Linked DNA regions of Homo sapiens: region 1 is linked to region 2. Evidence: promoter capture Hi-C in 16 types of primary human blood cells and fetal thymus (Javierre and others, 2016). All regions are on one chromosome and are shown on one strand. Each heading gives the region's core, a stretch centred on a gene start or on the middle of the fragment in contact. The rest is flanking DNA. Distances are from core to core; before and after follow the strand shown. Region 1 holds the start of CEP76 (centrosomal protein 76). Region 2 holds the start of CHMP1B (charged multivesicular body protein 1B).

Region 1 (7,097 bases), core at 1,114-3,613, 850 kb after region 2:
AGCAATTTATCCTATTAATTGCCTTATTAAGGTAACATCTTTCAAAGGGAAAAAAATAAATTTTAGTAATGTTTCAGTCATCTTTAAATCTAAAATTGTGAAGACATTCTGAAACTTTGCTTAGTTTACAAATATAAAGATTTCCATACTGACAATTACAAAATACAAAATACCTTTACTGAAAGAAACATAGTGTAAAACAATTACAGGAATCAAGTAGCATAAAATTTAGTTATGAGAATTACATGCTTTATTGGAGAAATAAGAAAAAAAAGAAAAAATTAAAATGACAGTTATATGTTCACATCTAAATTTGACTTTTTATTTTATTTATATTTATTTGTAAGTATTTATAAAAATTTATTAGAAGTTTTTATAAATAATTTATAAATATTTATTCATTTATTTATTTATTTAAACAGAGTCTCACTCTGTTGCCCAGGCTGGAGTGCAATGGGGTGATCTCGGCTCATTACACGCGCCTGCCACCATGCCCGGCTAGAAATTTTGTATTTCTAGTAGAGACAGGGTTTCGACATGTTGGCTAGGCTGGTCTCAAACTCCTGACCTCAGGTGACCCACCTGCCTTGGCCTCCCAAAGTGCTGGGATTACAGGCATGAGCCACCACACCCAGCCTATTTTTTATTTTTTGTAGAGACAATGTCTCACTTTGCCCAGACTTGTCTTGAACTCCTGGCTTCAAATGATTCTCTCACCTAGACCTCCCAAAGTGTTGGGATTTCAGCTGTGAGTCACCGTGCTCAGCCTAAACTTCGACTTTTAAAAGTTACATAACATCATCAATCTGGTTATATTTTATAAATGAGAAGGACCATGTCTCATTTTCCACTATATCATCCCAGCACCTGCCTAGCATAACACTATGCACATAATAGGTATTTAAGTGTGTATTACTAAAGAATCAACAATGAAAACAGTCAAAAAATAATATCCAGGGAAAATGAATAGCAAACAGAATATTGCAAGAAGGTGGATAGTAGTTTAAATTGAAAAGAGCAGTGGGAAACAAAATAGAGATTCCTCCATTATAAATCTCTCCTTACAGAAAAAGTCATTATTATTGTTTCACAATAAAACATAACAAAGATTTACTCAATTAAATGACAATTTATTACTGTTTCTTACCCAAGCTTTCTCTGTGTACTTCAAGTAAAAAGCCATCATGAAAATCTGGTTCACAGGCACATGGAACAGGTTTAGAACGAAAACGTTGGTTTCGATAATGTAAACATAAAGTAAACGTTGAACAAACTTGTCCAGGTAAAGGCTCAGGTTCTTGCAGATGTTCCAAGAAAGCTTTTCCACCCAAAACCTGAAGGTAAAGATACCTCCGTGTTGGATCAATATTAGCTGTAAAGTGTAGCAATATATATGAGGAAACTGCCAAATAACTTAAAAGAATGTGATCAAGACATTAGGAAATAAAAACTTGACAGATAAAAACCCAATACCAAAGACTAAAAAAAAAGCAAAAGAGTAACAAATTTATTACTGTATATGCCAGAATCATTTGCACTCTGGGGAGAAGATACACAAAATATGATATTCTTTTCTGAGTTTACATCCAGGCTACTTTCTCCCAGCTGGAAAAGGCATCAGAGCCAATATGTAGTATACTTTTGCTTTTTAACTGCTTATCCAACATTCCTCCACCTTCACAAACCAACTCATATAATTATCAATTCAGCAAGTGTATTTGTCAATTATATTAATATTTAAAAGCAAGGCTGTACAGTTTTTATAAAACATATTATTAAAACACAAGAAACTGGTGATGCTGTTTTTGCTTCTACCGTGCTATACATTAACTCTTCTGATATACTTCATGCAAAACAATCTGTTTTAGCCAACCATAAAATTTTAAGTATTTTATTTTGGGGGGAAAAAATGGAAATGTCTTCTATCAAATACGAAAGACTACACCACATCAATATTTACTATTAACCACAACTAAATTAATGTTAAAATATACATACTTTTTTTTAATGTCGATTGTCTATCAAAACAAATAGGTTGTTTTGGAGAGGAAGGGAGTTCTTGCTCAACACTGTCCTAGAAAGGCAGGAAAAAAAAATCAAAACAAATTAGAAAACAATTATAGGTTAAGGAAATGTCAATAAACATGACTAAGCACTGAACCTAAAGTCAACAGGGTAAGGCCCTTTCAAAGAACCCCTTATTTTCCTAGCCTAATTAAAATAATGAAAATAAAAGCCTGCATAAAAGATGATGTAAACTGATCACTCCTAAAATCAAATGCTAAGGAATTAAACTGTCTTCAAGTAATACTATCCACATAAAGCTAAAAACAAATCCTTAATACCTTCAACAAGGTTAAACTTTCTGTAAACCTTATGTAACAGTTGGCTTATAATTCCACTATGAGCTGATTTTAATAAAGTGTCATCACAGAGTAGAAGCTGTTATTAGGTCAATTTTTATAACAAACGGGTTCATAAACTTCAAAAACCAAAAAAAGGTGCTGTATTAAAATACTTATTCCCTATTGTATTATGAAGTCCATCCAATTTTCACATTATATTACCCAGGTATTGAGGTCACAGTTTCCATTATTGCCTCACTTTCAAATGAAGGCCTACTTACTAATTGTGCACTGAGAGACTATCATCCCATTATTGACCTATTTGTATTAAAAGATTTGAGGACTCTTATGCAGTCAATTATTTTCTTAAAGAAATTTGTAATTTGTTAATCATAGAGAATATAATCCCAAAAGAGTGCTTATTTTAAAAATACGCTTAATCTAAAAAAGTTACAGATCATAATGAAAAAGAACTTTGTTATGGTGAACTAATTGGACTAAAGTATGTATATTCAAATTTACAGACCTAGAAAATAAGAGAAAATTCTGTCACTGTAGAGACAGGAATAAGATATCTAACACAAATTTCATTGATACACAAAACTATTCAGTATATTCAAGGGCAGAGCTAGCCTATACTTGAAACAAGGACACTAGTAAACAGAATGACCTTGAAGTGGTTTTACTAAAACGAAAGGCCCCACATCGGAACCTTATAAGTAGTGTTACGCATTAGTATATACATATATACTCTCATTTATTTCCCTAAAAGATTACTCACAGTAACAAAATTAAGTTCTTTCATCACATCGTCAATGATTCCTCGACGTCTAAGGGCTTTGATCAAATCTTCTGTTGATAAATGCTGTTGATCAGGTGCCAATTCTTCCCGTATAGTCTCAGCAAGGATTTCTCTTATTCTACCATGGACATCCATCTATGTAGAAAACTCATATTACAATTTATAACATCACAAAGCAGTCAAATACTGCTTCTGAAGTTTTAAGGTTCTCCAGCTAACAGTAAATGCACAATTGTTACCACAATTGAATGGGAACAAAGGTAAGCTTTTAAAGAATGAATCTTTTGAGTACAAATTCTAGAAATAGTCTCCACTGGTTATCTGGCACCTTTGTTACCATTTCTCCACAAACAACACTCAACCAAAAGGAATCTTCTGAGAGGGAGTATAGTATAATCAGAAGAACACGGACTGGGAGTAGGCAGATCAAAGTATGATCTTATTACTTTCATACTTTGATCTGCCTAATGATAAGGGAATCTTACCAGCTTTCAACTTAGTAGATGTGTAACCTCAAGCCAACTTATTTACCCTTTATAAATCTGTTTCGTCACCGATAAGAATGGAAAAACCTAGTGTAGTGCCCTCTCACGATAGTGTTGTGAGGATTAAAGATACTAGACAGCACAAAGCCTGGCACACAAGGGCACCATAAATGGTCGCTTTTATCACTTCAGCATCTTGCACTCAGTCGAGCGAGCGCTGCAGAAACTGGAGGTTCTTCTGGAGCTCCGAAATATTAACAAATTCCGTCATTACAAACCCTTTAGTAACTTCTCTTCCATGACTTATTTGAGAATTGCTGATTGAAGCTCCTGGTTCAACTTCGCTGATACCCACATGTTTCAGCGGTAAAGAAACCCTGATATCTGCCGGGCGCGGAGGCTCACGCCTGTAATCCCAGCACTTTAGGAGGCCGAGGCGGCCGGATCACGAAGTCAGGAGTTCGGGACCAGCCACACCAACATGGTGAAACCGTCTCTACTAAAAATACAAAAATTAGCCGAGCGTGGTGGCGCGCGCCTGTAATCCCAGCTACTCGGGAGGCTGAGGCGGAGAATCGCTTAAACCTGGGAGGCGGAGGTTGCAGTGAGCCGAGATCGTGCCACTGCACTCCAGCCTGGGCAACAGAGAGACTCCGTCTCAAGAAAGAAAAAAAACCTGATATCTTACAGCAGAATATAAACCTCCAAATACAACTTACACTCGATCCGACTTCCAGAAGTCGCTCGCTAAGCGCTTCATTCTCACGGCCGTCCTAAAACGCCAAGACCGCTCGTTCTATCGCCCCAGACTCTTGCTAGCACCTGCTCGGCTCGTTTTCTTTCTCGGAGACGAGGACGCTCTCCTGCCTCAAACTCAAAGCTCTGCCTACTCTGCGTTGCGCACCCCACAATCCTCGCTACAGTCCCGGCAAGCAGATGCCGCTGTCGGCCCGGGGCCGCCGGGCAGGAGGGAAAGGTTATGGGTCGGCCCGGCGGTCTCTCCCAGCACCCGCGACTCTCACCTTGCTCAGCTGCTGGTGGATGAGCTGCTTCAGCTCGGAGGCTTTCTCCGGAGGCAGCGACATGCTGGCAGCCGGCGTCTCCCCGCCGCTTCTCCCCGCCTCAGATGCCCTAACTGCGCGGCCCCGGCCGGGCCAGGGAGCGTTAGGAGCGACTGGAGCACAAAGCGCCGCAGCCGTTCGCCTAGCGCAGCTCCCGGGGGACGCAACGCCGCGTCAGGCCGGGGGCTGACCTGGAAATGAGGCCCCGGCGGCGGCGGCGCCAACTGTTTTCAAACAGTGGCGGACAAACAGGGCTTGGGGCTGGCCCGCACGCTGCCTGATCGTTTCCGCCCGCCGCTCCACCTCCCCGCGGGCCCCGCACCCCGAGACCTCAGCGCACCCCATCGCCTTGCTTGCCAGGGTCTCCGAAAGCGCTGCTGGCCCCTCTTCGCGGCCACCCGGCGGCCTCTTTCCGCCCTCTGAACCGGCAGTTAGCTGGACGGGCCTCAAGGGCCCGGCGCCCAGGGACTCAAAGGACCCTCCCGCGCCCCGCGAGGCTCCGGGGTCTCGGGCTTCCGCCTTCTTGCTGCCCTCGTTCTTGCCAGGGCCGCGGTTAGTCCCTGCTGGCCACCCCACTGCGACCATGTTCGTTCCCTGCGGGGAGTCGGCCCCCGACCTTGCCGGCTTCACCCTCCTAATGGTGAGTCTCCATTTGCGCTCGGGGCTGCCGCCTCCCGAGGCCCCTGCGGTGTCGCCACCCCGACGCGGGGTGTTTGGCGGTGCCTTGGGAGAAATAGGGCACTAGTTTCTATTTCATGTTTTCGGCCGGAAAAAACAGGGAGGTTGTAGCCGGAGGCAGCCGTCCAAACAGAACCTTTGTCGGCTGTAAAACCAAACGTAGTCAAGTCTACAATTTGTAGTCTCTGTTTCCTGTAAAACGTGATGTGTTCGTACGTTCTAGATACACTGTACTTATGTTTTGCAGGGCATCCTTCAGTTTTATCCTAGAAAGTCTTTCTACGACTAGTTTTAGAATTAGTCTTAAGCTAGCATATTATCGTTGTTAACCGGAGAACTACTGATAGGGCAATAAACATTAACTCTTGCCGGTAGTTAGCGCAGTTTTATCGCTCTTTATATTCATTCATTGTTTTAATAAAGTCTGTTATGTGCGAGTATTAGAATAAGACTAGGTGCGTGCCCTCAAAGAATTTACACTGTAGTTGGAAACATGTAATCTAAGAGCAATAAATGCTAGGCTAGAAGCTTGAAAGGGTATAGAAAGGTCCTGAGATAATTGGGAGGGGAGGGACAGATGGCTTGTTAAGAAAGGCTTTATAGAGAAAGTAGTATGCAAAAGATGGAGGGCCCGTGGGCTGGGAGTAGGGGAAAGTAGGCGTTTCAGAAAGATGGATGTCTAAAACAGAGTCAGTAAGCAGGGGGACTTGAAGACTGCCAAGAATTTGGAATGACACATTGAGAGAGAATAGGCTGTAGGCCCTGTGAACCCAGAAGGCACCATTGGAAAATGCACTGTTTGGAGTGGTATAAGGCTGGAGAGAGCTGGAAGTGTCATCCTTATTCATTACATATAAAACACACAGCCCCAGAGAAGAGTGTTTCAAAAAGGAGGGAGTGGCCATGTCAAAAGTAGCCCAGAGATGTGTAAGGTGAAGAAAGTGTATGTTTGGATTTAGCGACATGTTAATGATGGTCACCTGGACAAACAGTTACCAGTGAAGTGGTGAAGAGGAAAGCCATATTGGAGTGGGTTGAATGAATGATAGAAAACAAGTTAAAGATTTGGGTTGTATAATATATATTCAGTCATTAATTCAGAGACAGGCATGATGGCTCATGCCTGTAATCCCAGCACTTTAGAAGGCCGAGTACAGGAGGATCGCTTGAGCTCAGGAGTTCAAGACCAGCCTGGGCGACATAGTGATACCTCATCTCTACAAAAAAATAAATAAAAATTAGCCAGGTGTGGTTTCCTGCACCTGTATCTCAGCTACTCGGGAAGCTGAGGTGGGAGGATCACTTGAGCCCAGGAAGCAGAGGCTGCAGTGAGCTGAAATCGTGCCACTGCACTCCAGCCTGGGCGACAGAGTGAGACCCTGTCTCAAAAAACTTTTTTTTAATAAGAGATAAAGTTTCTGCTTATGTTTTCGTGGACGACTTGGAGAATTTTTGCTACATAGAGAAACAAGAAATGAGGTTGCAGTTAGAGGGCTATGTGGGGTCAAGGGAGAGCCTTTTAGAATGAAAGATATTAGAGCATGTTTACGTGCTGATGGGAATAATACAATATTGTGAGGAAAAGAAGGATGGTACAGAAGAGTTTAACCCAAGTAGCAAAATCGTTGAGAAGGGAATTGCAGGAGGTAACTAGGCAATTGGTAGGTGACAACAGTGAAAAGTGGGAGAACATGCTGAGGGAACACCCGAAGGACAGAAAACAAAA
Region 2 (6,754 bases), core at 3,146-5,645:
ATATGTATGTAATGTATAATATATATATACATATATGTAATGTATTCCTCAAAATGGTCACCAAGTGAATATGTATCCAATGCCATTTCCTTTGGCTACATTCATATATTCCTACATTCAACAGAAATTTATTGGGTATCTGTTTTCCAGAGGTTGAATAGTACCAGGTATAGGTAGTCAACCAGAGGTCACCATGCCACACCTAATAGGAAAGCCTGCTGCTCAGCAAACACAAATATATGCAAAAAATGCAAACTGTGATAAGTAGGAGGAGCCCTTAGTTTGAGATATAACATTTCAAAATCACCAGAAACATACTGATGAGAATCCAGAAATAGTTTAACTCACAAGAGAAAGTTATTTTTCACATCTTTTATTTTCTTTTTTTTTTTTTTGAGTGACTTCAGACTTAGCAAATGATTCTTTTCCAGTGAAGTAAAACTGAATGTCCTGCTTAAATATTTTCATTTTAACCACTTGTATTATTTCAAAGTAAGGAAAGAAATCAGCCAGATGTGCCAAATGATAGCATATTTTTCTTCCCCATTTCATGATAAAAATAATTAACTGGTTTGACCCGCAGCTTTCTAGAAATGTCTGCACTTTAATCAAAAATTTCTTTTTTTTTCACTAAGAAAATTTGGCTATGGGACTTGCAAGGTTTCAATGTTAACGTGGTAGTTGCTAAACAATTCCAGTCATTATAAACTGTATGTTCTGTTTTCACATCTGTATTGGGTCCAAAACATTTTCACGTACAATTAGCATGGTTGTAGGACCAAAACCTCCTTTAATAATAATCCCAAAATAATCTTCCTTTTGCTAGATACACAAAAAGAGAAAGCATACCAAGCTGAAACAGACCCTGAAGGTTGTCAACCTCAATGGAATATAAAGAATGGAAAAAACTTAGAGCCAGGGTAGATGCAGATTCAGATACCACGGTGGTCAGAGATAATTCTTCCAAATCCAACTCGAATGACAAGGTAGATGGAGGTGCCAGTAGTAAATGGGAATGAGCAGATTTGGGGGAAAGGACTGAGTTCAGTCACTTTGAGGAGTTGCCAATCAGTCTTGGGCCACAGAGCGCCCAGCACCAAGGAGACAGCTGGGCATATGGGTTTGGAGCTCAGAAGCAAATCTCTCCGTGGAAATGTGAACATGAGAGCAGTTAGCTATGGATCCTATTGAACACCGTGGAAATGGCTGGGGTGTTGATAAGAGAAAGAAGAGGGCAGGGCTGGGGAACTGTCAGGGAGAGGAGGAGAACAGCCTTCTCTTCAGAATTCTAGTCAGCCCTGGTCTCTCTGGGAAGATGGCTTCTGGAACTCCACCTATACCTTCTCTCCAGCACAGAAAGTAGAGGTGTCATCATCCAAGGAATGTAGCTTCAGGTGATGGCAACTTCTTTTAGCAACCATACTTTTTCTTTTTTTTTCTTTTCTTTTTTTTTTTTTGAGAAGGAGTCTCTCTCTGTCACCCAGGCTGTAGTGCACTGGCGTGATCTCAGCTCACTGCAACCTCCACCTTTCCAGTTCAAGCGATTCTCCTGTCTCAGCCTTCCAAGTGGCTGGGATTACAGGCATGCACCACCACACCCAGCTAATTTTTGTATTTTTAGTAGAGACGGGCTTTCCCCATGTTGGCCAGGCTGGTCTTGAACCCCTGGCCTCAAGCGATCCACCCACCTCAGCCCCCCAAAGTGCTAGGATTACATTCCTGAGCCACCATGCCCAGTCAACAACCACACTTTATAAAGTTCATATTAACTTTGCAGTCAATGCAACTCTGTCTTCTCAAAAAAACAGCTGGAAAGTCAACTTCTTTCTTTAGGCTACATGATGATCATTATTTTATTCTTATTAATTCATGTTCATTGGATTCCCCATTGCCTTATTACTGGTCCCAATACATCCATGGAATCCGGTTTCTAACACTTACCTAATGTGTGGGTTCAGGCAAGTTTCTTAGCTCTCTGTGCTTCCTTTTCATTACCTGTGAACTGGAGACATTTATAGTATCTACTTCATAGGGTTTGCGAAGCTGAAATGAGTTAATTTATGTAAAGTGCCCAGAACAATGTCTGGTGCATAAGTACTTTATTAATGTTAGTTGTCATTATCATCATCATCTATCGGAGTCTCTCATGATTATATTCCAAACCATCTCACCTAGTCAGAATTTGTCATTAAGAAAACTATGGGCTGGGCACGGTGGCCCACGCCTATAATCCCAGCACTTTGGAATGCCAAGGTGGGCAGATCAACTGAGGTCAGGAGTTCGAGGCCAGCCTGACCAACATGGCGAAACCCCAGCTGTACTGAAAATACAAAAATTAGCCGGTAGTGCTGGCGTGTGCCTGTAATCTCAGCTACTCGGGAGACTGAGGCAGGAGAATCGCGTGAACCCAGAAGGGGGAGGCTGCAGTGAGCCAAGATCACACTACTGCACTCCAGCCTGAGTGACAAAGCAAGATTTCATCTCAAAAAAAAAAAAAAAAAAAAGAAAGAAAAGAAAAAAGAAAACTATGGAGCATGACATGGAAGCTGGATAAGAAACTTGTTTGCAAACTCCAAGAAAAACCAGGACCTAAAAGAAGGGAAGAGTGGAATGGAGGGTGAGCAGAGTAGGGGGCCTAAGCTCTCTATATCCACTTTGAACAGATTTCTTCCCCTTTTTTTTGGTTGTTTATATTCCATTTCTAGAAAAGTTTCATTTGGAAAAAGGGTTCTACTGCTTTGCGGGGCAAAAAGGAACCATAGCTAAGCTGCTAACTAGGGTAACATCCTATCCCCTCTGAAATACAATTAAATTCAGCAACGCCATCTGGATTCAGTGGCTGCTGTGTGCAGAGCGCCTGCTGGGCTCCATGGAGAGGGGAAGGAATCAGTGTCTGCATCCAAGTAGTTCACACTGTAACAGGTGACCTATACACACAGACCCCTTGCCAGGCAATGTGCCCTGTAGTATGGCCACACAGAGGAGGAGTCCTGGGGAGGCTCCATGGTGAAGGTGGCTTTTGAAGGACTGGCAGGGTGTCAATAGGCAGAGATGCATGGACACTAAAATCCAGGCAACAGGAACAGCATAGCCACAGGACCGGGCGTCAGTCACATTCTCCCCGCTGGCCGAATGACGCAAATAATGCTCAAATTCCATGCTGCGGTTTGCTTTGACTGGCGGAGGTGGAGGGGCGCGAAAGACGAGCCAGCATGCTGCACAGCAGGTTTAGCCTCCATGCCCGGGGTTTGGAGCAAGAGAGTGAAAACATCAGAGCTATGTCTTCAGAAGGTCTTGTGTTGTGAAACTGACTGGCAAGCTATCACAGGAAGCTAAGCGAGGTGGCAGGCTGCTAGATTAAAATGATCTCTAAACAGAATTCGCTCTCAGAGTTCATTTTCAGCCTACCTCATTAGGGCAGATTTGGTCTTCTCACATTGTTATTGCTGTATCGGAGGAATCTTTCTAAAGAGAAAAGTGACAGCACACATTGCTGCCATTTGAAAGCCAGCATTTTTAAAGGGCGTAATACATAGTGACAGTTTTGATGTATGCCCGTGGGTGTGGGTCCTGATATCTCAACATACTCTGCCTGCATAATTTAAAATGACAGTTTAGCCTGTCAAACTTAAATGTGAGTGAAGTTCCTTGGATATTTATAAAACATCAAAAAGACAGAATGGTGTCAGCAAAAGATGGGTCTTTTTATTACTAAACCACGGGACGATTTTTGGATAATTGCTGGCAACTCACCTAGAAGCTGAACTTCCAGACAAAGTATAAATTTGGTGGTGCCACAGTTTTGAAGATTATTTTCACTCAATGCAATAAAAGGATATTACAGAACTCTAGCACAAATTGTAGTCAAAGATGGAGACGCGTCAATGACCCGTTTGTTTTTAATGTGTTTTAATGTTTTTGTTTTTAATGTATCCATGGTTTCCAGTTCCCCTGAGAAAGTGGAAATTACCCATGCTAATAAAGCAAGCGTTAGTGCGAAGACCTAGCTGATGTTTGGCTGGTTTTTAGCCCGCTAGCCAGTCACCCTTTATAAAGCCTGCCAAGTTTGGAGCGTGGGTAATTTTACACGCGGGTCTCCACAGATCCTGTCTACTTCGGTAGATTTATTACTAGGAAAGTGCGTGGGGGCACTAATTTTTGTGAATTGACTAATGCGTTAGAATTTTAAAAACCGGGTAGAACGCAGCGCAGGAAGCGAGCGTTCCCCGCCGCAGCGCCGGAGCGTCCAGCCAGAATCCCCCTGCATGCGCAGCCCCTGGCGTCTTACGTCCCACAGGCCCCACCCCGGCGCCTTCCGTCCCGCAGGCTCCGCCTTTGGCGCTGGGCTCTGACGTCACCACCTGCGCCGCTCACAGTAGAAACAGGAAGTGGGACCAAAACAAAGGAGCGGCGGCCGGGAGCGGACTTACCTTACCTTCTCTGCCTTCGGCGCGCTTCTCAGCCGGGCCGCCGACCCAAAGGAGCCGTCCGACTATGTCTAACATGGAGAAACACCTGTTCAACCTGAAGTTCGCGGCCAAAGAACTGAGTAGGAGTGCCAAAAAATGCGATAAGGAGGAAAAGGCCGAAAAGGCCAAAATTAAAAAGGCCATTCAGAAGGGCAACATGGAAGTTGCGAGGATACACGCCGAAAATGCCATCCGCCAGAAGAACCAGGCGGTGAATTTCTTGAGAATGAGTGCGCGAGTCGATGCAGTGGCTGCCAGGGTCCAGACGGCGGTGACGATGGGCAAGGTGACCAAGTCGATGGCTGGTGTGGTTAAGTCGATGGATGCGACATTGAAGACCATGAATCTGGAGAAGATTTCTGCTTTGATGGACAAATTCGAGCACCAGTTTGAGACTCTGGACGTCCAGACGCAGCAAATGGAAGACACGATGAGCAGCACGACGACGCTCACCACTCCCCAGAACCAAGTGGATATGCTGCTCCAGGAAATGGCAGATGAGGCGGGCCTCGACCTCAACATGGAGCTGCCGCAGGGCCAGACCGGCTCCGTGGGCACGAGCGTGGCTTCGGCGGAGCAGGATGAACTGTCTCAGAGACTGGCCCGCCTTCGGGATCAAGTGTGACGGCAGAACCCGCTCTGAGGTTTCCTGGCCATAGCCACCCTTTGAAATGCTCTCTGTGTGTTAGAGAGATACTATACCCTAGAAACTCTGAACACGCCAGAATGCTGAAATGCCCTTCTACCTTTGGGTTTACAGCCCCCTCCACATAAATTAAGAAATTCAGTATTTCTGCACTCTTAGCTGGATTCTAAAGTTCTGTATAGCTCGTAATGATGGTATTTTTATAGCAGCCTTTTAACAGAACTAGTTAATTTCGTGTATATGAATCTTTCTCGAAGATCTGGTCAAAACTGTATTCAGTTTCCTGCCCAGAATGATCAGATTGAAGGTGGTTGGTTTTTATTATTATTTAGTGTGATTGATAGTATCTAGAATGGCAGGTGGTGCATAAAAGTTAAAGAGAGGGGAAAGATTACTTAGTTTGGTTATACAGTTATAAACACCATGCAGTGTATTCGGTGGACTGTGCTATTTCTGTTTATCCTTTGGGTTTTGGTTTTTGTTTTTTTTTTTTTTGCCTTCACAGTGAGACTGCAAATGATTGTTCTCATAACGTATATTATTAATAAATGTGGTCCTATAATTTATACTGAAATTACCTTAGGATATTTTTGCATAATACTCTCTTACTGCTTACATTCTATAAATTTTTCACGTGATAATTGTCTTTGCGTAACTGGGAAAAATGCCGAATAACTTCCTTTATTATCTGGAAAAATTAAATTTGTTCATTTATATTTTCTACTTACTAAATTGAGTTTTTAAAAAGACTTAGTGTGACATTTGACAGTGTCTTTCAAACGAACTTCTCTAACAAGTTTATAGTTATTTTCCTGTTTCAACACTATTAGAAGTCTTATAAATTATGCTAATTAGCATGGCAGTCATGTTACACACTCTTAACATTGCCAAAGAACTGTTGATTTCGTTTGAGAAAACCCTAGGACTGTGTGTGTGTAGGTTTTGTTTTGATTTTAACAACCAAAAATAGAAATAAAATTAGAACTGCGTTTTAAGTTCTAATTTGCATTTATTAATTTGTCCAAAAGCAAGAACTCTTGGAAATCCTTGAAAATATAAGCTGGAATGTTTTACTTAGCCATGCAAGTCATTTATGTATACATCCAGCCAGCTGGAAATCTGAGAAGTAAAGAGGTAGGACTGGAAGGAAGGAGAAAGCTTGAGTCTTTAAGGCTAGAGCCCAGCTGTGCTGCCTGCCATCTTCTCAGGAATGGCAGTGCGTATTTTCTGGCTGAAAAGTAAAGCATGTATCCACCGCTTTCTCATAGCCTCGAAACATGGAGAAAAGCAACTTGCTTTTGCCTTGGCAAGCATGCTAACCTAAGTTAATTCAAGTTTTTTTTAACTTACCCTTTCCTTCACTGGAAGATTTTTCCATAAGAGAATTCCATTGTTTCAGAAAATAATTATAGGGGCCCTTCCAAGTTCTTTGAAAGATTCATAACCAACTATTCACTATTATAACATGTTTCCCAGTGTAAATGAGTAAGGAAAAAAAAAGTGTAACAGGTGCGTGCAGATGAGGAGTGACCCTCATATTTAAGTTATTTTATATTTGACTGGACATTGTTCAGAAGTGTGCTTTAAGGGACACTTGTTAGTTGTCTGCCCAGCATCTCTCAAGAATATCCCTCCTGTC

What was found. The method cuts DNA at HindIII sites, captures the fragments that hold promoters and counts their contacts. A CHiCAGO score of 5 or more calls a contact.
Region 1: a fragment that was not itself captured here is called in contact with the fragment with the promoter of CHMP1B in region 2 in 1 of 17 cell types (naive CD8 T cells); the score reaches 5.2 in naive CD8 T cells.

The regions. Positions count from the first base shown.
Region 1 is chr18:12,697,832-12,704,928 of GRCh38, forward strand. CEP76 (centrosomal protein 76) reads right to left here and starts at 4,892. Exons shown (of 12, transcript NM_024899.4): 1 at 4,655-4,892; 2 at 3,127-3,282; 3 at 1,999-2,074; 4 at 1,148-1,372. The coding sequence starts at 4,717. It overlaps PSMG2 (proteasome assembly chaperone 2), which reads left to right and starts at 5,211. Exons shown (of 7, transcript NM_020232.5): 1 at 5,211-5,333. The coding sequence starts at 5,277. RefSeq lists enhancers at 4,037-4,934, 4,220-4,519, 4,530-4,579. The HindIII fragment of the contact is 2,094 bases long and covers 1,317-3,410 here.
Region 2 is chr18:11,847,018-11,853,771 of GRCh38, forward strand. CHMP1B (charged multivesicular body protein 1B) reads left to right here and starts at 4,396. Exons shown (of 1, transcript NM_020412.5): 1 at 4,396-6,754. The coding sequence starts at 4,495. The coding sequence ends at 5,094. All of the region lies in intron 5 of GNAL (G protein subunit alpha L), which reads left to right. RefSeq lists enhancers at 4,249-4,488, 4,757-4,806 and a silencer at 4,813-5,107. The HindIII fragment of the contact is 8,099 bases long and covers 1-6,271 here.